2 separate regions of the Homo sapiens genome follow, and region 1 is linked to region 2. Evidence: promoter capture Hi-C in human tissues and cell types (Jung and others, 2019). All regions are on one chromosome and are shown on one strand. The core of a region is centred on a gene start or on the middle of the fragment in contact, and the rest is flanking DNA. Distances in the headings are between cores, read along the strand shown.

What was found. The method cuts DNA at HindIII sites, captures the fragments that hold promoters and counts their contacts. A contact is called where the count stands out against the background at its distance.
Region 1: a contact is called between a fragment that was not itself captured here and the fragment with the promoter of FAS in region 2, in 1 of the 25 tissues and cell types used here (H1 embryonic stem cells).

Annotation. Positions count from the first base shown.
Region 1 is chr10:89,178,854-89,182,597 of GRCh38, forward strand. LOC105378418 (a long non-coding RNA gene) reads left to right here and starts at 429. Exons shown (of 4, transcript XR_946180.4): 1 at 429-551; 2 at 2,971-3,087. The HindIII fragment of the contact is 3,582 bases long and covers 410-3,744 here.
Region 2 is chr10:88,989,512-88,993,291 of GRCh38, forward strand. FAS (Fas cell surface death receptor) reads left to right here and starts at 1,287. Exons shown (of 9, transcript NM_000043.6): 1 at 1,287-1,395. The coding sequence starts at 1,366. FAS-AS1 (FAS antisense RNA 1) reads right to left here and starts at 3,464. Exons shown (of 1, transcript NR_028371.1): 1 at 1,911-3,464. It also overlaps a transcript of ACTA2 not described here. RefSeq lists a silencer at 1-32 and enhancers at 440-951, 952-1,462, 1,603-2,012, 2,143-2,222. The HindIII fragment of the contact is 1,672 bases long and covers 667-2,338 here.

The sequences.
Region 1 (3,744 bases), core at 951-3,450, 190 kb after region 2:
GAATGTTTTTTAACTCACAACTATATTCTAGTGTTTAGAACAGTGTCTGGCCCATGGTAGGTGCGCATTTGGTGAATGAATTAATAAATTAGTGAAAATATACCTACATACATGCTAGGCATTGAGGACTATCGTGAGAGTGGAAGGCCACTGAAACACAATTCCTGCCTTTGAGGTGTTAATAGTGCTGAAGAGGAGATGCTAAGTGAACACAAATCACAATAACACAAAACATTGTGTATTAAGTGCTATGACAAGGGGCGGGCAGGGAGTAATAAAAATCTCAAAGCGGGTTGTGTTGAGAAGACTCAGAATGTGTGACAAGTAACCACTTTGTGTCAAGGAAGGCAGACTCAGATTTGCTTAACCAGGTTCAGAACAACCTGAGAATAGAATCTGTACACTGAAGTTTAAGTGACTATATTCATTTATTTTGTACAGGTCACTGGAGATTCCATGGTAAACATGGCACACATGGTCCTTCCCCCACAATGAGGTTTACAGCCAAGTTGGAGAGAAAAGTGGTTTTGAACTGGATTAGAGATGTCAATGTAAGCACCCAAATCAAAATTCAGAGCTTAAGGAACTGTGAAGTCTGCAGTAGAATTCAATTAGATCTGTTAAGAAAGAGATTTATGGGACCGGGTGTGGTGGCTTACGCCTGTAATCCCAGCACTTTGGGATACCGAGGCAGGCGGATCACCTGAGGTTGAGAGTTCGAGACCAGCCTGACCAACATAGAGAAACCCCGTCTCTATTAAAAATCCAAAATTAGCCGGGCATGGCGGCTCATGCCTGTAATCCCAGCTACTTGGGAGGCTGAGGCAGGATAATCACTTGAACCCAGGAGGTGGAGGTTGCAGTGAGCTGAGATTGCACCATTGCACTCCAGCCTGGGCAACAAGAGGGAAACTCCATCTCAAAAAAAAAAAGAAAGAAAGCAAGAAAGAAAAAGAAAAGAAAGAGATTTATGGGTTAAAGTTTTAGGCTAAATGAACTCAATGAAGCTTTAATCTATGAATGTAAGTTTTAACCCAGCAGCCCATAAAAGCTTTTGCATTTTATGGCTGCCTAAAAATTTATTTTACTGAACTCTGTGGAAGAAGGGAGCATTTTGGTGGGGGTAAGGGAGACATGAAATGAGAGGCCACAGTCCCCAAAAATTAACTCTACTGTAACCCTTGAGTAGGTGTAGAAGAAGGAGTTCCATTGCTGAGAAGCAAGATATCATTAGAGTGGTATTTATGATGGGAGTTAGGGGGTTAATATAAAATTATCAAGGGTGACCTTATGGAGGAAGTTTAATTTTTGACAGGCTTTTAAGATGAGTTTAAATGGGGAAAAGGAAGGAGTAATTTGCCAGACTGGAGGCATAGATGGTGGTCTAAGGTCCGAGGGAGAAGGTCAGCTTCACAGAGCACAGCTAAGCTGTCCAAGGCCATGGAATCCTATGCCATTGCTGATCTTTAGCTCCGTACACAAGTATGGCTTTATTGGATTTTAAAATATTGAAATCAGTCATCCTCATTCTTCACAGATTCCTACTTGCTAAAATGTATATGTAACCTCAAAAATCAATAATCATGGCACTTTCATTGTCATTTGTGGACATGCTCAGAGCAGCAAAATATTTGAGTCACCCATTGGGCACATTCCCAGCTGAGGTCAAACAAGGCAATGTTCTATCTTCTTGCATTAGCTCTCTTTCTGTAAACACATGTCCTTGCTATGGTCTATTTAGTGCCACGTTTTTCACACTTTTGTGTTTTTGTTGGTGATTTTGCTGTTTAAAATCGCCCCAAGCATAATGCCAAAGTGCTTTCTAGTGATCCTAAATAAAAGGAGGCTATGCTGTGCCTTATGGAGAAAATACATGTATTAGAAAAGCTTACTTCAGACATGAGTTATAGTGCTATTGGCCATGTTTAATGTTAATGAATCAATAATATGTCTTAAATAAGGTGGTTTTAAACAGAAACACACATAAAACAAGGTTATCTATTGGTCAGTTGACAAAAAATCTTGTGATCAGAAGCTCTCAGGAACCCAACCCTATATTTCCCCTAGGAGCAATGGTTCAGGATTTACTAATTCAGTGCTTATAGCAACTTTATAGAACATACCATTATGAATAACAAGAATCAAATGTACTTCCACACTCCTTAGTAAGTAACTACTAGTCCTACCCACGATGAGTGTCTTCCCATTGCCTTGGCTGCCCTGTCCTCTGCCTCTAGCCACGCACCCTCCTAGAACTCTCCATTGTCTATCAGCTGAAGGTCTAGGAGCGGCCTCTAAAATGCGGAAGACCACCATTCTGATTGCTTAGTACCTGTGCTGTGTTTGATGTTAGATATTTTTAATATCACCTTTGTGTATAAATATCTCATTGACTTCTCTCCCATAGGGAACATAATAAGTCTTCCATTAAACAGAACTTGTCCAAAGAACTGTTATTCAATCAAAAGTATGTGAGTTCTGTCCTTTTAGAAAGGGAGACGTAATTCACAAGAAAAATCAAAATAAAAAATTTGTGAAAATACCTAATTTTCTGACATTCATTAATTCTCAGCCAGGCTCTTAGGCTATCTAAAAAGTCCTGACAAATGAGAATGAACCTGAGAATCATTTTTCTTGTCATTTGCTCAAAAGATTAATTTCCTGATATTCTAGGTTTAAAAAAAGAGGAGTAAGATGGTAAAATGTGAAGGAAATATCTGATGCTTGAAATAATTCAGAATTTGCCATGTTGGAGAGATATTTTAGAGATATCCCATAAAGGGTATTAGGATTTGACAACAATAAGAGTTGAAGAAGTGTTCTGATTCTATTAATAGAATCAAGGACAAAAGCCCTAGGGTCACAAGAAACCTGAATTCTGTTGACTAAAGAAAATAGCAATGTTTTAAAAAATTAACATATGTTTTATTAATTAATTAATTAATTAATTAATGTGTTTATTCATTAAAGCTTGTTTTCAGAAGCCTTGAGGGCTATCAGTTGAGAACTACAGCCCTGGAAGCGCCCATCAGAGAGGTTCTGTCAGACGGCTCTGACACAGTATTCCAGCTCACAGCTTACACAAAGGTAGTGGAAGTTCAGTATGTGTTCAGAAGTTACATCAAATTTGTTCAGAAGTTACATTAAAGCAGAATCACCTAAAGTTTAGGTGCAAGAGTACATCTGGTTATAGATTACAGAGGCATAGTCACTAACTCTGTCAGACATTATCTTATGAGTAGGAAAAGGCAAGGACTAGGATTATATATCTTTTAAGGATGTAGTGACTTGGGAAAGAGACATGAGGGGCCAGGTGCTCTATCCTGCTTTGTCTTCAGAGCATTCTTCCATAGAGCTGCTCATAGAGTCAGGGGCTGTGTGAAATTATGCTGGAGAGCAGAAGTGAGCAAACATAGGTTTGCTGCTTTGTCTCACATTTTAAATCTCAGCTTTGCCATATATTTCACATATTCAAACTTAGGTAAGTCACTGAACCTAGATAAACCTGTTCCTTAATTGGTTAAGGACAATTAACCTTGTGGACAGACCAAGTTCTACTCTCAAAGGGTCTTTGGAGGGGGTTAAAAATAGACAATGTGTAGAGTACTGAGCACAGAGCTTGATGCAGATAAAGTTGACAATTATTAGCAGTTATTATTAAATTGTTTTTATGCAACATTTATATTTCCTTTAATATATAAGTAATATATGCTTGTGTTTTTTGAAAAATTGAAAATATAAGGA
Region 2 (3,780 bases), core at 37-2,536:
CTCATGGCACTAACAGTCTACTGAAAGGTGGAACAGAGACAAGCCTATCAACACCTACAAGACTGGTGGTAAGTGCAGTGACAGATGCAAAACACAGGGTGATGGAAAGCCCTCAGGAGGGTAACCTAACCTAGATTTGAGGGCCCAAACAGGCTCCAGAAGAAAATGTCAACTGAGAGGAAGCCTGAAGGATGAACAGTGGGCTAAGCAAAGGGTTATTAATGTGTTATTAATGGGTTGAATCTAATTGGGAAGGGAGAGAGGTTGCAGAGTGAGGTGCAGAGCTTGGTGGACGATGCCAAAGGAATACTGAAACCTTTAGTGTGTCCAGTCTGGAACTGCATCCAAATTCAGGTTCAGTAATGATGTCATTATCCAAACATACCTTCTGTAAAATTCATGCTAAACTACCTAAGAGCTATCTACCGTTCCAAAGCAATAGTGACTTTGAACAGTGTTCACCAGAGCACGAAAGAATTACAAGATTTTTTTTTAAAGAAAATTGGCCAGGAAATAATGAGTAACGAAGGACAGGAAGTAATTGTGAATGTTTAATATAGCTGGGGCTATGCGATTTGGCTTAAGTTGTTAGCTTTGTTTTCCTCTTGAGAAATAAAAACTAAGGGGCCCTCCCTTTTCAGAGCCCTATGGCGCAACATCTGTACTTTTTCATATGGTTAACTGTCCATTCCAGAAACGTCTGTGAGCCTCTCATGTTGCAGCCACAACATGGACAGCCCAGTCAAATGCCCCGCAAGTCTTTCTCTGAGTGACTCCAGCAATTAGCCAAGGCTCCTGTACCCAGGCAGGACCTCTGCGCTCTGAGCTCCATTCTCCTTCAAGACCTCCCCAACTTCCCAGGTTGAACTACAGCAGAAGCCTTTAGAAAGGGCAGGAGGCCGGCTCTCGAGGTCCTCACCTGAAGTGAGCATGCCAGCCACTGCAGGAACGCCCCGGGACAGGAATGCCCATTTGTGCAACGAACCCTGACTCCTTCCTCACCCTGACTTCTCCCCCTCCCTACCCGCGCGCAGGCCAAGTTGCTGAATCAATGGAGCCCTCCCCAACCCGGGCGTTCCCCAGCGAGGCTTCCTTCCCATCCTCCTGACCACCGGGGCTTTTCGTGAGCTCGTCTCTGATCTCGCGCAAGAGTGACACACAGGTGTTCAAAGACGCTTCTGGGGAGTGAGGGAAGCGGTTTACGAGTGACTTGGCTGGAGCCTCAGGGGCGGGCACTGGCACGGAACACACCCTGAGGCCAGCCCTGGCTGCCCAGGCGGAGCTGCCTCTTCTCCCGCGGGTTGGTGGACCCGCTCAGTACGGAGTTGGGGAAGCTCTTTCACTTCGGAGGATTGCTCAACAACCATGCTGGGCATCTGGACCCTCCTACCTCTGGTGAGCCCTCTCCTGCCCGGGTGGAGGCTTACCCCGTCTTAGTCCCGGGGATAGGCAAAGTGGGGCGGGCGCGGGACGCGTGCGGGATTGCGGCGGCAGCGGCGCACGCGGGCACCTGGGAGCGGCGGGCTGCTGCGGGAGGCGTTGGAGACTGGCTCCCGGGGGCTGTTAGGACCTTCCCTCAGGCCCGGGTGCTCAGAACGCTGGAGGACTTGCTTTTCTTGGGCCTTGATGCGAAGTGCTGACCCCGCTGGGCAGGCGGGGCAGCTCCGGCGCTCCTCGGAGACCACTGCGCTCCACGTTGAGGTGGGCGTGGGGTGCGGACAGGAATTGAAGCGGAAGTCTGGGAAGCTTTAGGGTCGCTGGAGGGGGACCCCGGTTGGAGAGAGGAGCGGAACTCCTGGACAAGCCCTGACAAGCCAAGCCAAAGGTCCGCTCCGGCGCGGGTGGGTGAGTGCGCGCCGCCCCGCGGGGGCGGGGAGAGAGCCTGCAGCCTTCAGAACAGATATTGCTCATTTTCTGGCAGTTCTCAGACGTAGGAAATAAGTCAGCACCGAAGCAGTGGTTAAGCCGGAGGGCTCGGAAGAACGGCACCTTTTCTTTCTCGAAAAAGTTATATGGGGGCTGAATGAGCTTCTGGAGGCTTGTTTACCGTTTTTTATTGTCACACAGAAAAAGAAACTGCCTTGTCTCCCTTCCGGGAATTCTCTCTTTAAGACTGTAAGTCGCTGCCTGAGTGGTTTCATTTTGTTTTGTTTTTCTGCCCTTCTCTTTCTTCTTTTGCCCTTTCTTAGCTTGCACTCCCATGGTGATTTCTGCTTGGTCTCCTGCTGGGGTTGGTGGTACTCGTTCCCACCGCACAGAACCCGGCGCCTATTATTGGCCAAGAAACTTGAGCAGCCTGTTTTGAAAAGTCCCTCGCTCAGAAATGCCAGCTTGCAGATGGCTAATCAAAGAGACGTGGATCCAGGAGGCTCATTTGAGTACCGGAGCCTCTGAGAGTCCATGGATTTTTATTTTATTGGGCCCCAACAAAGTGCCAGGCATAGCGAGAGAAGTGTTTACAAATGTGATCTCCGCGGATTCTCACGAGAGCCATGTAGTGGGGAAGATAACCACATCCCCATTTTACAGATGGCGAAATGAGGTTCAGAGAGCTTCAGTAATTCAGCCAAGATCACACAGCTAGTAAATGGGAGATATGGGATTGAACTCAGATCTAATTCCAAAACTCAGGCTGTTCGCTGATTGCATCTGATATCCAGATTACACCAAGAGGCTGAGATGTCTGGGTCCATTTTATGATTAGAAAAAAAAATCCTGTTCCTTTCAGAAATAGTGTGCACTATTTGGGATTCTTTAGAAACTTCCTTGGAGAAAATTAATGATTCAAGATTGAGAAAACATTTATACAACCTCAGGCCACACTCTTCTCTCTCTTGTTATTAACCATTGCACCACTGCAATGTTGGCTGCTTTGAAAATCTCATAGTTTTTGGACAGCAGTATTAGTAAAGTGTAAGAAAATTGTCAAAGCTTGGAGCTATGCTTGTTGAACTTTTGTACCAATAGCACCTTTACCAGAGGCTGCGTGTTTAAAGCCCGAAGAAAACTTTGCTTTTCTGAAAGAATACACACACACACGCATATGTAAATATTCATACATTTATGTATATATACATATTATAATACCTATAAGTTAGGTATAACTTATATTTGTATATGATATATGGCCTAGGAAATTAAGGCTTATTAAATAAAATTTATAAATGCAGATGAGTCAAATACAAAGATCAGACATAACTCTATCACCTAAGTAATCATTGTTTACGTTTTGCAGTTTATCTTCCATTTCTCCCCTCTAATATGACTCTTTTAAATTTAGTTACACAGAAATTGGTTTTGCGCTCACGACATGCCTAACATCAGGCCTTTATCCTTAAAGAAGTTTCAACACTCTTGTGTCACCTCATGTGTCTACAGAAAATGTTTGCTTTTATGCCTTCACGGTTATGTTTTCTTAGTAGTAGCAATAAATAAAATAGATGCAAAGTGCTAATTACTTGGAATACAGAAGCAAATTTTAATTCTATTAATGGGCTGGACATAGATGGGTGGGGAGCTGTTTTCTGCTTTTCCCCTCTTCCCCTAGTCCTCTGACTCTGGTGATAACTATAGTCAACAAGTATCCCCATCCTTAACCCCTTTTGCTTCTCTTTCTCTTTCCTTCTCTCAACCTTCCTGGTGTTAGTTTTCTCTTTCCTATTTCTGAGTGTTTTTACTCCGACACTTACAATAAAAAAGTTTGAAATCCCAAAAAGTTGACAAATTTCTAAAGGAGACAGAAAAAGAGTCAAACTTACTTTACAAATTAATTTGAGAAAT